Regions from separate parts of the Homo sapiens genome. Here all the other regions are linked to region 1. The links are contacts of gene promoters, found by promoter capture Hi-C in blood cells and fetal thymus (Javierre and others, 2016). All regions are on one chromosome and are shown on one strand. Each heading gives the region's core, a stretch centred on a gene start or on the middle of the fragment in contact. The rest is flanking DNA. Distances are from core to core; before and after follow the strand shown.

The links. Contacts are between HindIII fragments. The CHiCAGO score rates a contact against its expected background, and 5 or more counts as called.
Region 2: a contact is called between a fragment that was not itself captured here and the fragment with the promoter of FMNL2 in region 1, in 5 of 17 cell types (M0 macrophages, M2 macrophages, M1 macrophages and 2 more). The highest score is 13.2, in M0 macrophages.
Region 3: a fragment that was not itself captured here is called in contact with the fragment with the promoter of FMNL2 in region 1 in 5 of 17 cell types (M2 macrophages, M0 macrophages, M1 macrophages and 2 more); the score reaches 15.8 in M2 macrophages.
Region 4: a fragment that was not itself captured here is called in contact with the fragment with the promoter of FMNL2 in region 1 in 5 of 17 cell types (monocytes, M2 macrophages, M1 macrophages and 2 more); the score reaches 12.3 in monocytes.
Region 5: a contact is called between a fragment that was not itself captured here and the fragment with the promoter of FMNL2 in region 1, in 3 of 17 cell types (M0 macrophages, M2 macrophages and M1 macrophages). The highest score is 7.5, in M0 macrophages.
Region 6: a fragment that was not itself captured here is called in contact with the fragment with the promoter of FMNL2 in region 1 in 5 of 17 cell types (M1 macrophages, M0 macrophages, M2 macrophages and 2 more); the score reaches 12.2 in M1 macrophages.
Region 7: a contact is called between a fragment that was not itself captured here and the fragment with the promoter of FMNL2 in region 1, in 3 of 17 cell types (M1 macrophages, M2 macrophages and M0 macrophages). The highest score is 6.9, in M1 macrophages.

The regions. Positions count from the first base shown.
Region 1 is chr2:152,333,222-152,336,687 of GRCh38, reverse strand. FMNL2 (formin like 2) reads right to left here and starts at 1,514. Exons shown (of 26, transcript NM_052905.4): 1 at 968-1,514. The coding sequence starts at 1,084. RefSeq lists silencers at 455-554, 1,065-1,714. The HindIII fragment of the contact is 3,556 bases long and covers 1-2,556 here.
Region 2 is chr2:152,577,138-152,580,603 of GRCh38, reverse strand. It overlaps FMNL2 (formin like 2), which reads right to left. Exons shown (of 26, transcript NM_052905.4): 8 at 1,640-1,716. Among named protein-coding and RNA genes, the nearest start is that of PRPF40A, 140 kb to the left of the region's middle. The HindIII fragment of the contact is 805 bases long and covers 1,411-2,215 here.
Region 3 is chr2:152,554,346-152,557,811 of GRCh38, reverse strand. The region is part of intron 4 of FMNL2 (formin like 2); the gene reads right to left. Among named protein-coding and RNA genes, the nearest start is that of PRPF40A, 160 kb to the left of the region's middle. The HindIII fragment of the contact is 2,121 bases long and covers 710-2,830 here.
Region 4 is chr2:152,537,178-152,540,643 of GRCh38, reverse strand. The region is part of intron 2 of FMNL2 (formin like 2); the gene reads right to left. Among named protein-coding and RNA genes, the nearest start is that of PRPF40A, 180 kb to the left of the region's middle. The HindIII fragment of the contact is 1,412 bases long and covers 1,236-2,647 here.
Region 5 is chr2:152,517,762-152,521,227 of GRCh38, reverse strand. The region is part of intron 1 of FMNL2 (formin like 2); the gene reads right to left. Among named protein-coding and RNA genes, the nearest start is that of FMNL2, 180 kb to the right of the region's middle. The HindIII fragment of the contact is 324 bases long and covers 1,649-1,972 here.
Region 6 is chr2:152,500,333-152,503,798 of GRCh38, reverse strand. The region is part of intron 1 of FMNL2 (formin like 2); the gene reads right to left. Among named protein-coding and RNA genes, the nearest start is that of FMNL2, 170 kb to the right of the region's middle. RefSeq lists an enhancer at 2,032-2,607. The HindIII fragment of the contact is 5,004 bases long and covers 1-3,466 here.
Region 7 is chr2:152,169,258-152,172,723 of GRCh38, reverse strand. The region is part of intron 1 of STAM2 (signal transducing adaptor molecule 2); the gene reads left to right. Among named protein-coding and RNA genes, the nearest start is that of STAM2, 4.8 kb to the left of the region's middle. The HindIII fragment of the contact is 4,391 bases long and covers 1-3,466 here.

The DNA.
Region 1 (3,466 bases), core at 265-2,764:
TCTGGGGGACCAACAGCAGTCCAGATCCTGGCTGGGGCAAGCCGCCACACCCTCTGCAGCTCACAGCACAAGCCTCGGCTGGGAGGGGCCCAGACACTGTCCCAGCAGGAAAGGGAGAAAGAGGGGAGTTTTCAGAGTCCTGGATTTGAGGAGCTGGAAAGCTGGGAGAAGCGGAATGCAGGAGGGAGCGGGGGACCTGGCTGGGCGTGCAAGAGGAGGGGAGGGGTCGCCCGTGCAGTCAGGACAGCTCGCAACACGTCCCCGCAAAACTCCACATTTTTGTGGTTTAAGATTTAAGTCTAGAGGGAACGCGCTGAGGTTCTCCCCGGCCTGGGTTTCAGATGCCCCTGCTCCTCGCCAAGGGCCGGGGCGCCGCACTGCTGTGGGTCTCCGCTTTCCCTTTCGGGGAAGCTCCCCTTGGCCAAGCCGCGACGTGAGCCCTCCAAGTTCGCCTCCGCTCACCGCCCGGCGCGGCGCCCGCGGCCGGCCACATGCGCCCCATCTGCCGGGGACTTCGCAGGTCCCGGGCTGGCCGCCCGAGGGATGGTCCGCAGGGGCTCAGGGTGTTTTGTTTTGTTTTGTTTTGTTTTGTTTTTTTTAAAAAAAAAGCCTAAGCGGCTCGCCACCTCCTCCTCCCAGCCCGCGCCACCTTCTCTTCACGCCCACGCCGCACCTCCCGGGCACACGCGCCGTGAGGTGCCTCTCCAGCCAGACAATGGGTTCGAGGCTGGTTGGGCAGCCGGCCCTGAGCCCCCATCCCCATCCCGGGACCCCGAGAGACTGAGCGCGGGGGACTGCCAGGGGGGTGAAGAGGAGTGCTGGGGGGCCACAAAGGGGAAAGCGGGAGCCTCCCCCTCGGGAATGGAGGCTCGCTCCCGGCACGGGGTGAAGGGGAGGGGCGGGGGTCAGCTGCGCCGCCCGGCCCGGGGCCCCGGGTCCCCGCGCCCGACCGCCGCCGCGCACTTACCAGCACGATGGCAAATCGCTCCTCCAGTTCACCTGGCTCTGGCATCGGCAGCTTCAAAGGCACGTTGTGCGCCCTGAAATCGGTCTGCTGCGAATCCATGCTCCCTGCGTTGCCCATGTCGGCGGCGCGCCGGGGCCGGGGGCTGCTCCGGGCCCCTAGCGTGCGCGTCGGAAATCAGAACAGCTCCCGGCGGTCGGCTGCCGCCCGCAGGCGCGACCTGCCCGGCTCCCCGCCCTCCGCCGCGCCCAGGCGGGTGTGCGGCGCGCACCGCTCCCTAGCAGCGCTCCAAGCCGAGCCGCCCCCCGGCCTCCCTCATGCTCTCCGCCGCCCCAGCGCGGCCCCGGCCTCTTTTCCTCGGGAGGGGTAGTTGGGGCGCTGGGCGCCTATGTGCATGGTGCTCCGCTGGCACACCGCCCCCTGCCAGAGATCGCGGCCCCCGGCGCGTGGTCCCTCCTACTCGGCCTTCTGCCGGGCCCGCGGCCGCCGCTGACACTTCCAGCCCTAGCCGGCCACGGCTGCGCCTGCCTGGCTAGCACCTGGAGCAGACAAATGCAGCTCCGCGCTCCCCTACACAATGCCACCTCTCGCCCGGCGCCCGGCCCCCGCCCCCGGCCCGGCTCCGCCCACTCGCCCCGCGGACTGCCGGGACGCGTAGTTTCTCTCCAAAGTGTCCGCGCGCAGAAACCACGCCTGCTCTAGAGCGCCAGGCCGGGTTGGGACCATTTGCAGCAAAGGCGATCCGTAGTCTCTGGAGATAGCATATTGTCACTTTTGACCCTCCTCACCCCAACAGTGGAATACTTACATCGTGTATATCATGTTGACACTTGGTAGGCGGGTCTGACCATGACGGAATCGAATCAATGAATGAAGGAATGCATGCCTTCTGATTAAAATTCAGAAAATCGTTGCTGTTTTTAAAAGATCTAGTTCAGTAAGGAACTTCGAAAGCACTGGCAAAGTTCTGTTTCATAAACGGGGGGGTGGGTCCATGGGTGCTTGTTTATCGTTCTTTCTTCCATATATATGTTCTTTGGTGTGATTGAAATGTTTTATAAACAGATGTATAATTTATGGGTATATATAGTCAGACCCTAGGAGCTAGGTAAGGATTCAATTCAATTTAAAAAAAAAACCTGTCAAACACCTATTATGTATGGGATATTGTGTTCCTTGGTGGGAGAAAAAAGAGATTTGCCCTGCGCTGGAATACTTGCCAATCTAGTGAAGGAAAAAATGTACACACCCATATTTCATGTGAGATGGATATAATGATAGAGTGTTCTGGGAGACTTTGGGATGATCTTTGGCTGCAGCTCTCTTATTCCTTCACAGCAGTCTTGAGCAAGGTGTCTTACAGAAAAGATTGGACCTGACTCTGTCCTCTGGGGTGTATTTCAGACTATAACTACCCGTTCTGAAACCTCGGAAATAGAAATAGCCTTATAAGAGACTTTAGCCAACTGCTCATGTGAATGTTAAGGGCATACATCTGGTTGACTTGTGGCTGAACTTCTGCAGTTAGTCCTTTCTTAGTTTAAAGCAGTGTTTCTTAATCCTAGATGTGTATCAGATTCGCTTGGGAAGCTTTTTGTTAAAACTACACACACCTTGGGCTCTGCGTATTATCAGAATCTCCCTAAGCTGAGAGCCGAAGCCTGGGCCGGTGTATTTTCAACAAGCTCCCCAGGTGATTTTGATATGCAGGTAAGGTTGTTATCCTTTTAGTAAATAGCAAGTGTTTCTGGACAAGGTAGTACACCAAGATTCAATCAAGGACATTTCATTCATCTTTATAAACTTCAAGATACTTTAAACATAGTAGACGCCCAAGAACTATTTGTGGAATTGACAAGTGACTTTTTCCAAAAGCATATGACACAAATACACACAAATACATCATGTATGTTCTATTAAACCACTTCTAGTCTTTAAAGAATGGAGACAGTATAAATAAATTCAACTTAAAATTCTGAATAACTGTAACCTGTATTTCTAAAGCAGTGTTGTATCAAAGTTAATAGCAAATGTGTTACTGATCTGAGAGAAAAGCAGGGCGGTTTAGATACACACACACTCCAAACTAATGAAAATGAGAGAGAAAGAAAGCAGTTCGGACCAGGTGAAACATTTCTGACCCACAAATGTATTTATTTCCTTGTAATCTCTAGACATATACTTTGGATCTGATTGACTCACAAAATCAGCCCACCCAGAGGGTTGCCCATCTGGATAAAAAAGGCTGGAATTCTTTTCTGCAGTTGAGAAAGCCTTTTTGATTACATTTATGTCTCCCTGCGGCTATATTTCTGCCAGTAACCAAGACCTTTTTCTCCCCTTACGTCTTATCACATCTAGTCTCTCTCATAAGCTCACACTTCGAGGGAAGCCAAGGAAAAAGTGTGCAAATCTATGAACCAAAAGAACTTTCCTGCCATTTCAATGTTTGGAATCTCTAATATTTGGTTGTTATTTGTGATTATTAAGAGGAGAAATAAA
Region 2 (3,466 bases), core at 564-3,063, 240 kb before region 1:
GAAAAACAAACTATTGATTAAGTATTTGCTCTGGTTTTAGAGACAGTGAGAGAACATTTGCAAAAAAAAAAGTTCAAAATCAACTGAAACTCATGTTCTACATTTCAAATCTGCTCATGTAGGGACAGATCCATAAATCTCCCACGAAAATACAAGTTTCTGTCCTTTCTTCTTCCTACGCAGGACAACTGGAAGGAGCTGGATTACAGCTTTACTAGCTTTACTAACACAAGAATATTTTCTTTGACTCAAGAAAATAAAACTCAATCTGAAATATTTTTGGAAGGAGAACATGGAGATACACTCTAAGTTTTCAAATTCAATGTCAAGAAAGAAACAGCATTGTTTCTTCAATCATAAGACCACTTAAGTATTTCATTTTTTTTCTGGAATAACAGCTTTCACCAACTTCTAAACAAAAACTGTTCTGATACTCCACAATGTCAATTGTCTTTTAAAAAATAATGTCTTCCCTGTAGTAGAAGGCAGAGACACAGAAGCATGGCTACTTAGGACTCTAGTAAACGAAGGAAGGAATCGCACAGTCGCAAAAGGTTTAATCAGGGGAAGTTTGAAAGAATAATATTCAGTAAAGAGGACTTGATAGTTCGTGTTGCATTTTCCAAATCAGAAATGGCTAATTTATAAACAGATTTTTGAATTAACAGTTTTCAGATATTTTGTCTACAGAGAGGTATTGGATGAAAAGGAATTGCACATTTGAAGTACAGAATACTTCACCAAAATGGAAAGCACATTAAAATAACTACAATTGATGAAGACTGGCTTTTACGACTAACGTGTGATGTGAATTATATCTGCTGCTAGCCTTTACAAGGTGGTGAATATGAAAGGAAATCTGCATATACAATTTTATTTTTCTATTTCTTTCTTTCTTTATTTTTTGAGACAGAGTCTTGCCCTGTCACCCAGGCCGGAGTGCAGCGGTGCGATCTCGGCTCACTGCAACCTCCACTTCCTGGGTTCAAGCCATTCTCCTGCCTCAGCCTCCTGAGTAGCTGGGATTACAGGCATGTGCCACCATGTCTGGCTAATTTTTTGTATTTTTAGTAGAGATGGGGTTTCACCATGTTAGCCAGGCTGGTCGCAACTCCTGACCTCAGGTGATCTGCCTGCCTCGGCCTCCCAAAGTGCTGAGATTACAGGCATGAGCCACTGCGGCTGGCCACTACAATTATTTTTCTATTTTCGTTCAGTAATTAAAGCTACATATGTAAAGTTATCAAGCGAAGTGTAGACGAAGGATGGTGGTTTTAGCTAGCTTCCAGCAATAACTGATATACGTAAATCTTTATCAAGACTCTCCTGGCCCCCGAGTCCTGGCAACCTGATCCTCTCCAAATTTAGCAGCAAGGATGCTGGAAACCAGGCCTCAAAAGAACAAAAGCTTGAGGAGAACAGTGAAGGGCTAGAATTGTCACCAGTTGCTCAACTCTGGCCCATCTAAGAATGTAACTTGGCTAAAAGGAAAAATTCTTACACAGCCAAAGAGTTTATAGCCAATCTTATTTCAGAGATTAACACTTGAAAGTTTCCAAAGTCAAACTTGGTTAAGTGTTGACTAGCCCTCTGTTTTCTCTAGATAGATTTAGACTTGCGTACTACAAAAGCAGCTTACCTGGGATTCTTGTTGTTCAGGCTTAGTGCAATCTCATTGACAGCGTGTGGATGAGACATGACCATGTTGAAACCATACTAAAATTAACATGGAAAAAAAAAGAAACACAAAGCATTGGGAGACAAGTTAGGGAACTGTCAGTATTGATTTAAAACCAAAAACCCGAAGTATCTACCTAATGAAACTTACACCATTATAAATGCACTTATGTCTCTAGTATATCACTGTCAGAGCATATTTCTCTATTAAAAATTTCAAGAATGCCAGATGCAATGATTTGTGCCTCCAGTCCCAGCTACTCAGGAGGCTGAGGCGGGGGGTACAGCTTGAGTCCAGGACAACAAGACCCACATCTCTCAAAAAAAAAAAAAAAAAAATCGGCAATGATGCTATTATCAAAAGATTATCTTCCCATTCTTTACAAATGAACTACATGTTTCTCTTTATTAAAATGATAAAAAGGCTCTAGCCCAGTGATTATTAACCTTGGCCGCTCCTTAAACTCCCCTGGAAGACTAAACAAAACATTTACTCCGAATCTCAATTACAGGGACCTGGCACCTGAGTTTTTAAGCTTCCAGGGTGACTCCACAGTATACAATAGATATAACATACAAAATGTGTGTTAACAGACTTTATGCTACTGGTGAGGTCTCCAGTTATATACAGATTTTTGACTACACCAGGGATCAGTACCCCTCACACCCCACAAAATTCAAGGGTCAACTATATTCTTTCTCCTCAAAACTCACTCTCAGCTCATCAGAGAAAACATCCAGAAGTTCCTATACCACATCAATCTATCCACACAGATTTGTGGCTTACCTCCTCACCTCCTATTAAAGAGGAACTCTTCTGTGCTCCAAACTAAGGCCAACCCCTCCCATGAGTCCTTCCTCCATCCCATTCCCTCGCATCTGCTCACGAACATCATATGTTCCAGAAATTCCTCCCTTCCCCCTTATTTTTCCCTCTCCATAGACTCATTGCCATTAGCATAAAAAATGCAAATTATCTTAAGTAACAATAAAAACCTCTCTTGATACCACAACCTGTGTTCAGCCACTGCCTCTCATTTCTCTGCTATCCTTTACAGCAAAACTCCTCCAGACACTCAGTATAAATCCTCACTTCCTGCTCATTCTTGAAACCACTCCAATCAAGCATTTCACCCCCACCATCCCAATGAACTGTTCTTGCCAAGATCACCAAAGACCTGCACTTTGCTGAAGCCAATGGCCAATCCTCACTCCACATCTTACTTGACTTAGCAGCATCTAACAGAGCTGAATACTCCCTTCTCCTTGAAATATGTCCTTCACTTGGCTCCTACTTGGCTATTTTTCAGGCTCTCTAGCCAGCTTTTCTTCGTCTCTCTGACATTTAAACAGAGAGCCCTAGAGTTCATATTTTGGACTTCTTTACTTCTCAGTCTACCCCTACTGATCTCATTCACCTTCCTGGCTTCCTATGCCATTTATATGCTAATTACTCTCAAATGTCTAACTCCAGCCTAGACCACTGCCTTGAAATCCAGACTGGCATATCCAACCATGCACCTAAGATCACCATTTGAATGTCTAAGGGGAATCTCAAAGTTAAAATCCCCGAAACAGAATTCCTAATGATCTCCCTCAAATCCATCTATCCTGCAGTCTTCCCATCTTTGTAGATAGCAAATATATCTCACAGGTGCCCAAGACAAAAGCCCTGGTGCCACCCTCTACTACTCACCTTCTCCCTCATATCCAATGCTGTGGCCTTTAACATCAAAATAAAACCAGAATCTGACCACCTCTCATCATCTCCACTCCTATGATCCTAGTC
Region 3 (3,466 bases), core at 521-3,020, 220 kb before region 1:
ATTCCACAATGGTTGCTTTCCTCCAGAAACACCAAGCTAAAAAGTCTGACCAGCTATGGACATGATAGTGACTATGGAAGCCAGTTTTGTTAGTTATTAAAATAACAGTAGGACAATTCTACCAAGTATCCCTTAAGCATGAGCAACCCCTTGAGGTCTTTGTCTTAAAAGGCAGAAAACAATCCCATGGAATCAGGATATTTGGTTTTTTGTTTGTTTGTTTTAATTTTTGGCAGGGGGAAGGGGTTCTTTGTTTCATCCTCAAGGTCATTCTTTCTTCTAGTCCTGTCATCTCCATGATGCAAACCCAGCCCAGGTCTGCAGGTAGTTCCAGGAGGCGGCAAAGTGGGAAAGTGGAAAGATTGCCTTGTGTTTTCCCCTCAAGCGCCTCAGAGAGGCAACTGCAAAACCTATGCACTTGGCATAGCTGCCTGTAAACATATAACATTTAATTTAAGAGAGACCTGGAGTGGCAACGGTGGCAAAGAAAATACCACCTGGTAGGCCTCACAAAGTGGCTTTGTTATGAGACCTAGACAAAACTAACAGGGCTGGCTACTGGTGGAGGCTGAAGTTTCATTTCAAAACAGCCACATACACAATCTCACAGCACCTACTAGATACTTATTTTTTATTTATTTTAAGTACTTTCTGTGGTGCTAGGTCTCAGGAGACACTGATCACGTTTAAATACTAGTAATTAGAAGCTTAGAAATAGTAAAAAGAATTTTTTCTTTTTTGTAACTGGCTGGAGACTTAAAGTCTGGAACTCAATATCAAAATCTGATGATTAGAAAATCTTTAAATTCAAGCCCCTTAGCCTTGCTTAGGCTTTTCCATTGGTGGCCTATGGGCTGTGATTGTACAATTTAAACTGGCCCTCGGTGGTGGGTGTCTTTTTAATATGAAAAATAATCACGGCGGGGGGAGGGGGGCAGATTTTTCAGGGCAGTCTCAGTTGTACATATTCTCAGTGGCCCATAAGAACACACTAATTTAGGAGCTAAGAGAAACAGCCATTGTCGTTTCTTCTGGTTGATTTTCCAGATGCAGCCTCTGTAGAGTGCAGACCATTCAGAATGCACTCAGTGCCTGCCCTTGTGTCAACTACTGGCAGGCACCTCCATCTCACTTGGAAAGTTCAGCCACCAATTGGACAAGAGGCAAGTGACCTACAGAAGAAAAACTAAATTTTTTTAAGGTAGGAAATAGCCAAGTACAGCCAGAGTTACAATTCGCTTAACATGCTAATATGCATACGTTTTAATGCAGGGATAAAGAATACTCATTGGCTCCTCTTACTTCACTTCAGAGTCCTTATCCATGCCCCCATCACCACTTCCTGACTTTGAGTGAAAGGGCCTCAAAGACAATTTTCTGAGTAAAAGGTAACAGCCTGCTGCCTACCTCCTAAAAGGTCAGCTAAAGTGTGACATGTTTTACCCCTGATTTAATTTCATGCAGTTAACATCTTTTTCAAAGCTACAAGATCCTCCCTGGGATTTGATCTAGTCCTGACACCCCCAGCTGCTTTAGGAAAGAATGAGATCAGTCTTTCAGGGCTGGCTACCTTCCCCACTTTATCAAATGGTATCAGGTTAGCTTAGCAAAGTCATTTCAGCAATAAGGGTATGGATGACATGAAAAAAGAGCCCCCATTTTTCTAACTATTATCTCAGTCCCTACCCCTTCTTGACTTGGAACTTTCTGTATTGGAGAGAACTGGCCATTTTCAATTGGAGTTGAAAGTGAACTTCTACAGAAATATAAGAGTAAGGAAAGAAAACAGGTAAAGATAAAAACGGGCAACTTTCAAAGCAGTAACTGGAATCTAAAGGCATTCAAAGAATATGGATGCCTCATTTTGCAGATTTATGTAAATGATCATGCAAGGACTATATCATATATTCAGGGTTCCCATAGCAAATTAGTTCCATTTCACCTCTGTGCATGCTACACACACTTTTTAATATGTTGCCAATAGGCAAACAGTTTCAAATTGGGTGATTATAGGTTTTGGAAAGTTGAATTATTTCTGACTCTGACAGAACGCATAACTTCCTGAGTGCCTCACGGATTCAATGTAATTACCATATGCTGTACATCTGAATTTAGGCAAATTCTAAATCAGATGCTTAGGAGCTGGAAAAGACAGGGACAATGACAAATAGCTCTGGAAGAAATTGGGTGCAAGGAAGAGATGTAAGTGCCAATGCCAACAGTCACTGTTTTATTGTAGGCTGGTCACAGCTTAATATCAAATCTTTGTTCTGTCTCCCCAAATCTTAGAACCTTATTTCTCCTCATATAGGTCTTAAGAGATGTTCCTGGCTTTCAATTTCTAAGATCAAGCCAAGTAGCCCAAAGTTGCACAACAGAAAGGAAAAAGCAGTTAATTCCTTTTGCCAGCCTCCTCTAGAGAGAGGTCCTACAGACATATGTTGGGAACTGAAGTTGATGAAAAATCATGAAAAGCAAGAGAAAGAAGCACTGTGTGGATTCAACACTGGTCATCAGATCTACTCTGTTAGGCAGTGTTGCAAACTGATTCTCAAAGTATAGCCCATATACCACTAGGGGTCCCTGAAACCCTCTCAGGGCGCCTGTGAAGGTAAAACTGTTTTCACAAAAATATTAGGACATTAGTTGTTTTCAATCTGTTGACACTGACACTTACAATGCCAAAGAAATACTGTATAAAACTGCTGCAACCAAAGAAGACACTTATTTATTGTATTTGTCACTCCGTGCACTCAGGAGGGGGAAAAGGCCAGCTTCACTTAAGAACGCCCTTAGATAAGCAATAAAAAATATTGATTTTATTAAAGCTTACTCATTTAGTACACATCTTTTTCATTTTCAGTGTGACAAAACAGGAAGCTCACATAAAGTACTTCTGCTACCTGCTCAAGTAGCACAGTTGTCTCAAGGAAAAGCACCTGTGAAATTGTTTGAGTTGCGAGCTGAACTAGCCATTTTTTCATGGAATGTCAATTTACTTGTAAAAATAACTGACAAACTATGGTGATTCAGTTTGGGGTATGTGGCAGACATTTACTCAAATATGAAGTGAGCCCATCCTTTCAAGGACAACACAGTATTTGTTGCTGATGACCAACTTTGAGCTTTCAAACAAAAACTAGAATTCTGGAAAACCTGTATTCACCACCGTCAGTTTGACAGCTTCTCAATACTTAACATATATTCTAATCAGACTGGTGGTTATTAACAAATGTGATTTTTAAAAACATTGTAAAGGGATATGCTTCAACAGTGGAGAAACATGATTTTACTGAGTTATTCTGATCTTCCAAATGACCAACATGATGTTAACAAATCATGTCACAAGTTCATGTATGGATAAAAAGACCCAATCAAAGTGTAAGACAGCACAAAGGATTTTTTGAGACAGGGTCTTACTTTGTTGCTGAGGCTGAAGTGCAGTGGCACAATCATGGCTTACTGT
Region 4 (3,466 bases), core at 692-3,191, 200 kb before region 1:
TCATTGTTCAATTCCCACCTATGAGATAATCTTATTATTTAAAATCTATATTTGTTATTGTTTATCCTTGAAAATAGGGGGAATGGTTTGTAGTAGGACACCTATTAATATTTTCCCTTTATTTAAAAATAATCAGGGTGAATTTTGTAGTATATGAACTCTATCTCAATCAAGCTGCTTTTAAAAAAAGAACAGCACACTTTTTCTAATTATTCCTTCAAATGTTCTATCTCGAGAGCAATTTCTAAGTAATCACAACTATTCAACATCTCTAGTGCCATCACTGTGTCTGTGTATAAACTACTTTTTTTAAATCACCATCACCTCACCAAGGAATCAGAGGGGATCCTATTGCCATGGGGATTTAGCAGTAGTCCAGCTGAGGGCTAAAATAATCACAAGAAGCTCAGAAAAATGAACTGATGAGCTATCTAGAAGCCAGTCATTATTTCCAACCTCATGTATGACAACAGCTGATGCCAAACACATATCAGAATATAAATAAATATTATCCTTTTAAATAATATAATTCCAATTATTCAAAAAAAATTTTTTTGAGAGAGTCTCACTCTGTCACCCAGGCTGGAATGCAGTGGCACAATCACAGCTCACTGCAGCCTCGACTTCCCAGGTTCAAGCAATCCTCCTAATTCCACCTCCTAAGAAGTTGGATCTATAGGTGCAGGCAACCACGCCCAGCTAATTTTCTAAAGACAAGGTCTCACCATGTTGCCCAGGCTGGTATTGAACTCCTGGGCTCAATTTTATTTTTACAATAATAAAATTTGGTGGAGTAGCACATGTAACGCAGTAGCATTCACTCATTTAGTGAGCCCTATCTTTGACAGTCAGTAAAGGCAGCTTTTTTTCATTTCCTATTTGGGACTGTGGCGACTCAGAAGGCTTACTCAAATACATACATTTGCTGGTCCTGTTGACTGGACTATATTTCCTTAGGACTTGAAATTATGAACAAGGTCTACATGTAATAAACTCACACTTTTTCAAATATGCTTATTTAGCATTTGTCGTTGTATTCCACATATTCTTCATTTGTTTGAGCAGCTTACTGATGTATTAAGAAAGAGAAAATAAGGAAGCCTCATGCTTTAAAACACAGTTGGTCCACATTGCATCCACTTCTAAGAAAACTCAGGTGGGGCCATTTGCCTTGGCATAGTCTGCCCATCTCCTCTTTCTACCTCCACTGCTGCCATGGAACCCGTGAAAAAGCTTGTGGCAAATGGGGAGAAGGAAGACAGAAAAAGAAGGTTCTGAAGTTCACTCTTGATTCCACCCACCCTCTAGAAGATGGAGTCATGGAAGCTGCCAATTTTGAGTGCTTTTTGCAAGAGGATCAAAATGAACAGAAAAGCTGGGAATCTCAATGGAGGGGTGGTAACTATCAAAAGGAGCAAGATCACCAAGACTTTGGAGGTGCCTTTTCAATTCATTTTGATAGCTCATCATGACTAAAGAATAACATTTCTACACAGTGCAACTCAAGTTGGTAACTTAATAAAGGTACTTATATCATTGATGTCAAGCAAGCAGGCAACGAGGTCCTGAAAATAACATGGGATATGAAGCAGTTTTAAAAGTGTGGGTAATGGAAGACTGCCAACCAAAGCAGTTTCGACTTTTAATACAATATCTAAAATTCTAATATTTAGAGGGAAAAATATATTAATTCAAATAAATAGGATGCCCATAATCCATCTGAAGTCCTTCAAAATAAATGTGTTTGGCAAGGTGCTGAAATTTTCTTATGTATTTTCCCAATGTTTCTGTTGTTCAAATTGGCCACATTGAAACAGAGAGAAAAGGTTTGGCAAATCAGGTGCTGAATTTATAACTCAAACAGTGGTTCCTTTAGATATTAGACAGGCAACCCCAAGTTTTACAAAAACAGTTGGGGCTTTGTATTCTTCCTCCATAACACTTTTATTTGGGTCCCTGGATGTAGGCCGAGTTTTCTTTTCTCTTCTCCCTCTCCCTCTCTCCTTCTTTCATGGTTCCCATGAAAGTTTTATATGAGTTTTATTTAAGAACTCATAAAAATACAGCTGGGTGCAGTGGCTCACGCCTGTAATCCCAGCACTTTGGGAGGCTGAGGCAGGTGGATCACCTGTGGTCAGGAGATTGAGACCAGCCTGGCCAACGTGGTGAAACCCCACCTCTACTAAAAATACAAAAATTAGTCAGGCGTGGTGGCGCGTGCCTGTAATCCCAGCTACTTGGGAGGCTGAGACAGGAGGATTACTTGAACCCAGGAGGTGGGGCTTGCAGTGAACTGAGATCATGCCACTGCAGTCCAGTCTGGGCGACAGAGTCTCCATCTCAAAAAACAAACAAACAAAAAAAAAAAACCTCATATAAAATATTCCAGATAATGAATTTTAATCCTCCTCTTCCTCTTCCCTGAACTGGTTAATTTAGAAGTAATGTAATTCGTAACTCCTTGCCTTTAGCAGCTACGTGCAATCCATCATGTAGATGATTCTTCAAATATCTTTTAGTGAGATATTTCAAATACAATTAACTTTTCATGTGGGGCAGTACTTTTTGTTTCTCTGATTTTTAACTTATCTTTCAGTGATACTTCACAGTTTATCACATTCTTTAGACCTCTTAGCTCACTCAAGCTTCTATATCTGGCAAGTAGATATTATCTCCATTTTGCAGATGAGGGAACTGAGGCTTAAAGATTAAATGACTTACCTGAAATCATATACTGTGTGTGTGTGTGTGTATGTGTAAGGTCTCTGATGTATTTTCCCAATGTTTCTGTTGTTCAAACACAGTTTTCTGACTTTTTCTGATGCTTGTTCATTTTACTACACTATAATAAGCATGCTCATCTTGAATTTAATAGTATAAACATTTTTTAAAGGGTGGAAACATGTTCTATTCTTCATTGAGTCCCAGTATGTAAAAGAATACTTGGCACACAGTTGATCTTCAACAATGTTCAAAGAATTAAACTTTTTAAAAATGTCACATACAAGTCACTTCTTTCATAAATTAAGGGTAACTTTTAAATGTAAAAGTAAACAAAGAGACTATAAGCACACTCTACAGGATGTACCCCAGCAGGTTCAGTAGACATAAGTTAGTCAAGCTCACGTCAGAGCCAAAGAACATTTGCTGATGAGCCGCAGCTGTGTCTCTCGTAGATCTAAAGCCGTCTAATGCCTTTCATAACCATACGTTTCCTCATTAACCCAATCCCCTAAGGCGTATGTTAGCTTCCTCTTTCCCTACTGGTTGCCTGGAACGTTAGGCTGCCTATACACATACCTGCCTTGCAGACAAGGAAAAAACAAAACACTTATTGGACTCCACTTAATGACCAAGTCTACTGCAACCCAAGGTGGGAAACTAGACCATTGTGAAAAGAACTAAGTGACGGGCTGTGACAGGGGTGTAGTAAATTAATTAGGTAAGTCACAGCAAACAGAATTCA
Region 5 (3,466 bases), core at 561-3,060, 180 kb before region 1:
CACATGTCATGAATCTAATGTCCCAAATGACCAATCATACACATTTTTAAGATACTAGGTTTGGATGCAAAGTGAGGTCTTTGGCAAAAGACCATGGCAGAGTAAGAGAGCCTCAGAAAGAATTCAGATCTATTCTTTTGGCCTCCCCAAAGTTCTCATGTGCTAAACAACTGAGCTAAGTAGTCAATTAAAGTATTATACCTATTTATCATCCTGTCTATCCCCTGGCATCAGCACTCTAAGTCACACCTATTCCTAAATAAACAATGTAGTCCCTTATCTGGGTCAATATTCAAGCAGACAAATGCAAAGGTCTTGAACTTTTAATACTCAAGCTCCTAGCTCTCTGAAGGACTTGGCTTAGGGAGAAACAATTCCCCTGGTCATGGTTATTGTCTTGTGTTATAGGGTGAAACAAGTTTAACAGAGGCAAAGGTGAGTATGCTGTCCTGACTTAATGATAGAAAATCAACCACTGATTATGATAAATTAAACCAAGCATTTTCCCTTAAACTCAATCTAACATCTAGATTGGTATGCCTTAAGTATATCTGCCACCTATTTGAGTCTAATCCATCAGATTTTACAATAACCTGTCTTTAAAATATTTAATTTAATTTTTTTTTTTTTTTGAGATGGGGTTTCACTCCTGTTGCCCAGGCTGTAGTACAATAGCACGATCTCGGCTCACTGCAACCTCCGCTTCCTGGGTTCAAGCAATTGTCCTGCCTCAGCCTCCTAAGTAGCTGGGATTACAGGAGCTTGCCACCATGTCTGGCTAATTTTTGTATTCTTAATAGAGACGGGGTTTCACCATGTTGGCCAGGCTGGTCTTGAACTCCTGACCCCTGGATGATCCGCCCGCCTCGGCCTCCCAAAGTGCGGGGATTACAGGCGTGAGCCACCATGCCTGGCCTAAAATATTTAATATTTTAATCACCCCCCCTCAAAGCTGACAATTACTTTGAAGAGCTTTGGACTTTATAAAGAGTTTTCAATGGTACTGCCAAAGCTTCTTAGATATAGAAACATCTAATATGGGAAAATGTTTTCATATGGCCTGTCTTCATGGAATATCTACTTGAACTACAATGGAAAAAGTCTATTTGTAATTATTAGTTATTACAATTTGACAATGTTAAAAAAAAACTCCTGGGATAAGGCAAAGGAGAATTTCATGTGTATCTTTCTGAGGAAGTCTAATGTTATTTACTGGTAAATGGTCAGTCCATCATTGCTTATTTGCACTCCAGAGAAGGAGGTTTTCCTCTTAAACTGGTGTTGACCTTCATGTTAGCACCCCAGCTATAATTATGCATTAAGTAAGAACAATAAGATTATAAATTAAATGAGTTCTTTTCCTCTTGAGTCCTCACTAATCTCGAGATATAAAGGGAATAAGAAAAAGAATGCCTGAACTCCTACAAGGTGCCAAGTACTCCATTCAACACTTTGCATATGTAATCTCAGTTAATACTCATAATAAGCATGTGGGATAGACATAATCTTCTCCATTTAACATAGGGAAATAGACCCGGGAGAATTTGGTTAACTTGCTCAAGGTTGCACAGCTTTACAGGAACAAAGACAGGACCTAAACTTAGTCTGTTAGGCTCCCAAGGATAAATTCTGAATATGCCACCAAGCTTTTTTTGCAGGAGAGCAAAACGGCAATAGCTTATGACCTTCTATTAGTACTCTACTAGACATTCCCGTGGAAGCACTTGGCAAACATCGCCACAGGAATTACACACAGGCTCTGTCGTTTTCTGCAAAGAGAAAGGCAAGATGCCCCTTCCAGACTAACTCTTATTTTGATTAAAGAGTCTTTCGTTCAACAAATGTTTATGGAGCACTGCCCCTGTACAAGCCCTGTGCAACATGCTGGGTGGCACGGTGGGAATCCAAACAGACGCGATGCCCAGAGAGCACTGTGTTATGGTGGGGAGACACATATGAAACAAACAAAGCTTTTTAAACTCTGGTAAGGCTTGAGAAAGGTTATCAGAGGGTAGTCTTAGATTAGACAGTCTGGAAAAACCTCTCAGGAAAAAGTAACAAATGAGTCCCAATAAATGAGAAGGATTGGCCAGGCAGAGGGCGGACGAAAGCACACTGGGCACAGTGAACAAGGGAAGCCTCAAAGGCAGGAATTAGCTTTCCACATTTAAGGAGCTGAAAAAAGTCAGAACAGCCAGAGAGAAAGTAAAAGAGAAGGAATGAGAAAAAGATGAAGTTGGAAATGTGAGTCAAAGCCATATCATGCCTAGACATGCAGACCAGGGTCAATATATTTTATCTGAAGTGCCACGGGAAGCCATTGAAGGCTTTTAAGCAGATAAATAACATAATGACGTTGTTTTTCAAAGATAACAATAGGTGCTATGAGGAGAACAGATTAGAAACAGCAAAAGCAGAGAGCCAGTAGGAGGCCAGGACTAAGCAGTTCAAGTGAATGATGGCAGCTTAGATGGGGTCGATGGCACGTTGAATGAAGAAAGGTGGACAAATGTCAGAAATATTAAGTGAAACTGACTGGTTAGACTTAAGGGCTGGGGAGGATTTGTACCTTGTTTCCAGCTTGAGTCACTAAGTGAATGGGGTACAGTTAATAAGAGGGGCACGTAACAAAAGGCAAAATAAATCTGGAGGAGTTGGTGAAGAATAAGATTTATAAATGACCCTGTTTAGGCCTGAGATAGCTATGAGATAACCAAGAGAGCACTCAAGTGGGCAGGTAGATACATGATTCTGGAGGTCAAAAGAAAGGTCTGAATCTCTGAACAAGAAGAGACTTAAGAAGTCTTTTTGAGCATGATTAGTTATTGTCAGAAGTAGCAGTGCAACATCAATACATCCAAACTAAAGCTCCACTGGGTAATCATTCACCAAGCATCTAAAATAACCCCTTCCATGAGCCAAGCCTCTGAGCTACTCAGACATACATTGTACAGCTTAATAATTCCATAAGGACCATGAGGAAGCAGTTCTATTTAAAATCAGACACTCTACAGAGGTCTGGTTAAAGTTCAGGGATGTTGTGATTAGCTGGTAATAACTGCCTTTAAACTTCTTTCGAGTGAACTCATTCCTCTTGTGCTGTTCAGGGCAAGACTCTGGAGTCCAAGCTAAATGTTTGAGCAGGTAATTCATGAGTCCAAGTTACTGTGTGAGGAAAATATTGGCTCTATCTCCAGGTCCCTTTGCTGCCTTTATAAAAATGGACTGCTCATCTATTTGGCTGAAAATATCAATCAATTTCCGAGTCTTCCTAACACGGTGACAACTCTACCTCACCCACTCTTAGTGACATCTGTGACATAGGGCTCTCCTTTCATTCTTTTCATCCATTGTTCCATCCAACATATTTCCTGGGCTTTAACCATATACCAGAATGTCCGCACTGTAGGCATCTGAGACAACTTAATCACCAAGTAACTGCCTGCAAGTATCGCCAAAGGTCGAT
Region 6 (3,466 bases), core at 381-2,880, 170 kb before region 1:
ACTGCAATACCTTCCCCAAATTTGTCTGACCCTTAGTAAAGAACTCCCATCAGCTCACTCTTTTCTGCAGTTCCCTCCTTACCCAACTTAGAATCCATGGCCCAGGTAAATAATGTTCTTGATCTTGCACCAGTGTTTCTTGCTCCTCTAGCTGTCTTTTTAGCACAGCCCCCAACACACCCCCAAACCTAGACAAACTCACTGACCAGTGATATAGATTTTTTGCTTGACCAAACTTTAGTCAGGCTCCTTTACATTCTCCTACATCCGTGTATACACTTCCTTATAAAATCTGGTTTTGGCAAGAACTCTAAGTCAGTTTATCCAGAATTCCCCACCCTCTATGTCTAATCACCCCCACTAATTAATTGGGTTCCTCATCCTCTCCCATTCCCCAGATGGTATCTGATCACCCTGGCCTGCCTTCAACAAGAATCCTATAATAGGTCAGGATCACTTTAACCAGAATTCTCTCCCTTTCTTCCCCTACTTCACTCCTATAGCCCTGATGTTTCCTCCTAGTAATTTTCCATCCACTGACCTCCACTCCACTCCTTGGCTATAAATTCCTATTTGTCCATGCTCTGTTCAGAATTGAGCTCAATCTCTCTCCCTCACTGCAAAAATCCCACTGCAGTGGTCCCTACGCCTATCGTGATGGTACTAAATAAAGTCTGCCTTACCATCTTGAACGAGTGTCATGAGTAATTCCTCTTTAATACCATTTTGTCCCTCCTGATACAGAAGCACCTGAGACTGCAGAGAGTGCCATGCAACAGGAAGATCAGTCAACCACAGAGCACCAACTATCACTTGCCCGGAAAACATCTACCCTCAACACTGCCCAGGGAACATCTACCTTCTTCTGGTCAACCATTTACAATCTCTTCCAACCTCCAACCTCCATACCCTCTCCTTACCCCCTTCTCTCAATATAGCCTCACCCCTTGTATGTCATGAAGGAAATAAACCCCCTTATACAAGAACTCGCTCCCTTTCCTGCTACTAAACTCGCAAACCCACCATACTTCTGTACCTTCCTCTCCCACTCTCCGCACAATGAAATAAAGATGGTACTTATTTTGTTGTTTTTGGGTTTTCTGGGTTTTTTTGAGTCGGAGTCTTGCTCTGTTGCCCAGGCTGGAGTGCAGTGGCACGACCTTGACTCACTGCAATCTCTGCCTCCCAGGTTCAAGCAATTCTCGTGCCTCAGCCTCCTGAGTAGCTGACACTACAGATGCCTGCCATCACACCTGGCTAATTTTTGTATTTTTAGTAGAGACATGGTTTCACCATTTTGGCCAGGCTGGTCTCAGACTCCTGACCTCAGGTGATCCACCCACCTTGGCCTCCCAAAGTGCTGGAATTACAGGCATGAGCCACCACGCCCGGCCCAAAGGCGGTATTTTTTCCTATCTTGGAGACCATCCCTCTTATATTCTTCTCTCATAGACCATTGTGAAAAATAAATGTTATAACCTGTGTTTCACAAAGCACAGTTTCTGACACATTAAAAAGAATTCAATGAATAGACGCTGCTTTCACCATTAAGGTTTCCAACAGGGTTGTACCTAGTGGGTGCTCCAAGGATGAAAACAATCAATCCTATATTTGAATGGGAAGAGAGAATCAGATAAGCACATCCTCAAGCAAAACTCTGTTAGCGCCACCTCGCCCAAAATAACCCAAGTGTTTTCCACAAGAAGAACTTACCCTATAGACTCGCACGAAGAACAAGGGGTTAAAAAGTTAAGGCATCAACATTTTCTTGTTTTTGATTTAAAAACTACTCAAAGCTACTGTTAAATGACAGGGCATAACAGTGAAAACTAGGTTCCTTTCCATACTTGCTACCATGCAGTTACAGTTTCTCCTTCCGGAAACTATAACTTATGAAATTTAAATGAACTAGAACGTTTGGATCACATTCAAAGTGTACACTGGACCTTCTGCCAATATGTAAATCGCAGGGGGTTCACAGGACCCCATTAGAGAAACAGTACAGTATGGACTTTCACAAGATTCATTCTCATCATCGTCTTCCTTCTAAATGGAGTCTTGGCAATTAATTACTCAAAATTAAAAAAAAAAAAGTCACGCAAATTTACACAGATGGAAACAGAATATCTTTACTTGTTAAAGCCAGGAACACAATCAGGCTCTTTGCTCCCTTCTGTGTAAATATTCCTGAGACCCTCTCACCCAAAACCGTGGACATCCTGGGGGATTTTGCTTTCCAGCATCAGGGCAAGCTGGCTAGTTTGGTTTGGAGCCTCTGTACTGGCTGCTCATTGAAGATAAACTTAACAATTGAATAGAGCCTTCATTAGCATTTCCATCAACCCATTGGGAGCTCTCAATATCAGCTCATAAAGAATTATGCTTTTAAGTTACATGTCTTTTAGAAGAGTCAGATACATTTTCTGAGTTCCCTTTTGGGAAGGTCATCCTTCAAGTTCAACTGAATGCAGGTAAAAGCTAACCCTATCCCCGAGTCACTTTAGAAAAGCAATTACATTCTTACATCAACAATATAGCAAGGATAAAAATATCAAAATAAAGAGATAATCCTTAAATACATTTAGCTTTAAGGAAAGCATATTAGGTTGAGGACTCTATTTGGGAATTACTGGCCCACAGGGTTTGATTTCAGGGCATAAGGGCACAAAGAATTGTTTTTACTGCCTGTAAAACTTTTAAAACCGTCATGAAAAATGTGAAAGATTTCATAGAAGAATCAAAATTTTCATCTTCTCATGAAAATTTGGAAGCCCTCACAGCACCGGCCTGCCTTGCCAGTATGGGCTAAAGCCGAGTGGCGCCTGCCTCGGTCAGGGACTTAACTCACAGGCTTGCCAAGGTTCCACCACTCCCTTTTGTGTCAAATCCAGGCAGATTTTACAAATTTAAGAGACCTAACTGACTCCTGTAGACATCCGAGTTTTGATGCCTGGTTTTTTTGTTTGTTTTACCCAGGCTGGAGTGAAGTGGTGTGATCTCGGCTCACTGCAACCTCTGCCTCGCTGGGGTTCAAGTGATTCCCCTGCCTCAGTCTCCCGAGTAGCTAGAATTACAGGCACCCGCCACCACACCCAGCTAATTTTTGTATTTTTAGTAGAAACAGGGTTTCGCCATGTTGGCCAGGCTGGTCTAGAACTCCTGACCTCAGGTGATCCACCGACCTCGACCTCCAAGTGCTAGGATTACAGGCGTGAGCCATCGCACCCGGCTTGATGCTCATTTTAAGGCATTGTTAGGATACTGGGATATGGTAGAGGGTAGGGGATCTATTTGCTGCGGTTGACAGCTGTTGATTCTTTAGCTGAACGAATCTCAGGTGCTTCTAAGAAAAACGTTCTGAGCCGGTAGATGGCAGAGTTTTAATTAATCAGGTGCTGGGGGGCTAAGCAGAGAGGAGGAGGAGATAGAACACGACATTTTTCCCACCAATAAATTTTGCCTGGGA
Region 7 (3,466 bases), core at 668-3,167, 160 kb after region 1:
AATTTTTTGTATTTTTAATAGAGATGGAGGTTTCACCATGTTGGCCAGGCTGGTCTTGAACTCCTGCCCTCAAGTGATCTGCCCGCCTCGGCCTCCCAAAGTGTTGAGATTACAGGCGTGAGCCACTGTGCCCAGCCTCCTCCCCCCCTTCTCTGATAGCACTTTCCCAACAGGAAGTAACCACCTTTTGCTAATGTATGATATGGTCATTTTATGATTAAAGGCCTTTAAAGATTAATCTCTTTTGGTAGGTGAAGAGTCTTGCAGGAGGGTGAGCAGTCTTTCTGACAGTCATATGAGGAAGGAATCCTTTTCTCAGGGGCTGAGAAAAGGATGGGTCAAGATGTCTTAGGAAGGCACTCATGAATTGATGATGATATGTGACTTGTCAAATGGAAGCAGGCCAAAGGCTAGGAAGTAGGGAACTCTGGCAAATTCCTGTCTTTTCTTGGCATCAGAACCTACAAGCCCTGAAGGATATACTAGATTTGGTAGTGTTAGAACTCTTTAAACATTTTATCTAGATTCATTTTTTTGTTTTGTTTAATAAGATTTCTTTGATGTGTTCTGAGGGGAAAAAAGAAAATATCCTTAGGTCCCACCTCTTCTCCCCAGCTGGGCCTCAAGTGTTAGAGGGGTACAGGGATCTTGAGGTAGAGCCTGGTTGGAGTAGCCATTCTTGTAGAATTCCAAGGGGAAAGTGAAACATGGGGGACGGGGCCACAGTGGTTAGTGTTAACAGAGAAGATGTCATTTCCTTATTCATTGATTTCCAAGTCATGACTTGTCTGTTCTAAGCCTTAACTCCGGTTCTTGTTTGCATATCTTTTTTCCCTTTACTCAAGCCAGGCAATCTTTCTTGCCAGTTTTCTGCCTCTGTGCTATTTACCATTCATTGCTAAATGTTTGCTCTTTTCAACCTTGGTATTTCCTTTAAAGATACGCTTGTGTCCCACAAAGCTGAGCTCAAATTCTACCTCTACAAAACTCTGTGGACGCAGTGGTTTGAATTGTTAGCTTTTAAGAGAATACATTTCCAAGTGACATTTTAATGTGTGTATTGCTGTGTTTCTGACTTTTGCTGTGTTAGAAGAAGTTGACCAGGAAGTAGCTTGGGACTTTCTCCAGTGAAATGCAGTCATGCAGTCCTTTTCTCCAGTGAAATTTTATAAGAAATCCCAATATAAAAATAGATATTGATAGCATAAGAATAATATAAATTCATAACATACACACAAATTTATAACATTTACTTAACTAGGCCACTCTTTGTACAATAAGTTAAAATCTTTGTAAAAGTAAAAATTTTTTTAAAAAGTTTTTTGGTTTTGAATAAGAATAGTAGACTTAACAGCCAGTTTTTTTTCTAATATATTTTGTAGCTTTTTAAACTATGAAATATTTTCAGCATAAAATAGAAAATATGAACTCCCATTCCTGCCAGGCAATTATGTCAAGTGCTAATATTTTGATATACTTGATTCTTTTTTTTTAAGAAAGGAACATTCAAGATGCAGTGAAATACTTTAGTATTTTTAGCAGCTACCTGATCCCATTCTTCCTCCTTTCTCCGAGTTAAACACTCTATAAATAGATAGAAATTCTCTTTAATAGTATAATACTACACTTACAAATATACTATATATTGTTTGGATGTTTTTAAACTTCTTAAAAATGGTGTCTTTTTGTCATTCTGCAACTTTTGTCATCCAGCATTTCTTCTTTTTTGAGACGGAGTCTTGCTCTGTCGCCCAGGCTGGAGTGCAGTGGTGTAATCTCAGCTCACTGCAACCTCTGCTTCCCAGGTTCAAGCAATTCTTGTGCCTCAGCCTCCCGAGTAGCTGGGGTTACAGGTGCGCACCACCATGCTCGGCTAATTTTGCATTTTTTAGCAGAGATGGGATTTCGCCATGTTGGCCATGCCAGTTTCGAACTCCTGACCTTAGGTGATCTGCCTGCCTTGGCCTCCCAAAGTGCTGGGATTACAGGCGTGAGCCACCGTGCCTGGCCCATTCAGCATTTCTTCGTGAGAGTTATTCATGTTGATGTTTGTAGCTCTAGGTTATAAATTTTAATGGCTGCGTGATACTATACTACTATATGAATATGCATTATCTGTTGTCCTATTGACGAACATGACTTTGTTTTCAATTTCTTGCACCTACAGACAGCTCTGTATTGAAAGTTTTTATCTATGTTTTCTTGTGTTTATGGGTGCAAGATTCTTTTTTTTTTTTTTTTGAGACGGAGTCTTGCCCTGTCACCCAGGCTGGAGTGCAGTGGCGCGATCTCAGCTCGCTGCAACCTCCATCTCCCAGGTTCAAATGATTTTCCTGCCTCAGCCTCCCAAGTAGCTGGGATTACAGACGCCTGCTACCATGCCCAGGTAATTTTTTTTTGTATTTTTAGTAGAGACGGGGTTTCACATGTTGGCCAGGCTGGTCTCGAACTCCTGACCTCGTGATCCGCCCGTCTTGGCCTCCCAAAGTGCTGGGATTACAGATATGAGCCACTGTGCCCAGTGGAGTGCAAAATTCTTAAAGGTTGTCGTCTTGAAGGGGAATTCTTCAGTAGAAGTGTAGCTCTTGGCCTGGTGTGGTGGCTCATGCCTGTAATCCCAGCACTTTGGGAGGCTGAGGTGGACAAATCTTCTGAGGTCAGGAGTTTGAGACCAGCCTGGCCAACATGATGAAACGTGTCTCTACTGAAAATACAAAACTTAGCTGAGTGTGGTGGTGAATGCCTGTCATCTCAGCTACTCGGGAGGCTGAGGTAGAAGAATCACTTGAACCTGGGAGGCGGAGATTGTGCCACTGCACTCCAGCTGGGGCAACAGAGTGAGACTCCATCTCAAAAAAAAAAAAAAAGTGTAGCTCTTGCAAAGTTGCCCTTCCAAGTGTTTGTTGATTTCCCTCCTGTCAGCAGTGAAATTCCTGTTGTTCCACATCCTCACTAATGCTGAGCATTGTCAGATTTTCTAATTTATGCCTATCTGATGAATATGAAGTAAGACATTGTTTTCATTTCATTTTCTATTTCTACTTCATTGCCAGTGAAGATGAGCATTTTTTCATATGTTTCTTCATCATTCTGTTTTCTTTTTCTATAAATTGCCTGCTCATTACTTTTATTATTCTGTTGGGTTACTTTTTAAAAATTGATGGCAGGGTGCAGTGACTCACACCTGCAATCCAAACACTTGGTGGATTGCTTGATCTCAGGAGTTCGAGATCAGTCAGGGCAACATGATGAAACCCCATCTCTACAAAAAATACAAAAATTAGCTGAGCATGGTGGCGCGCACCTGTAGTCCGAGCTACTCGGGAGATGGAGGTGGGAGGATGGCTTGAGCTAGGGAGGTTGAGGCTGCAGTGAGCCATGATTGCATCACTGCACTCCAGCCTGGGTGACAGAGCCAGATCCTGTCTCCCGAACAAAACAAAAAAACGAAACCAAAAACCAACAC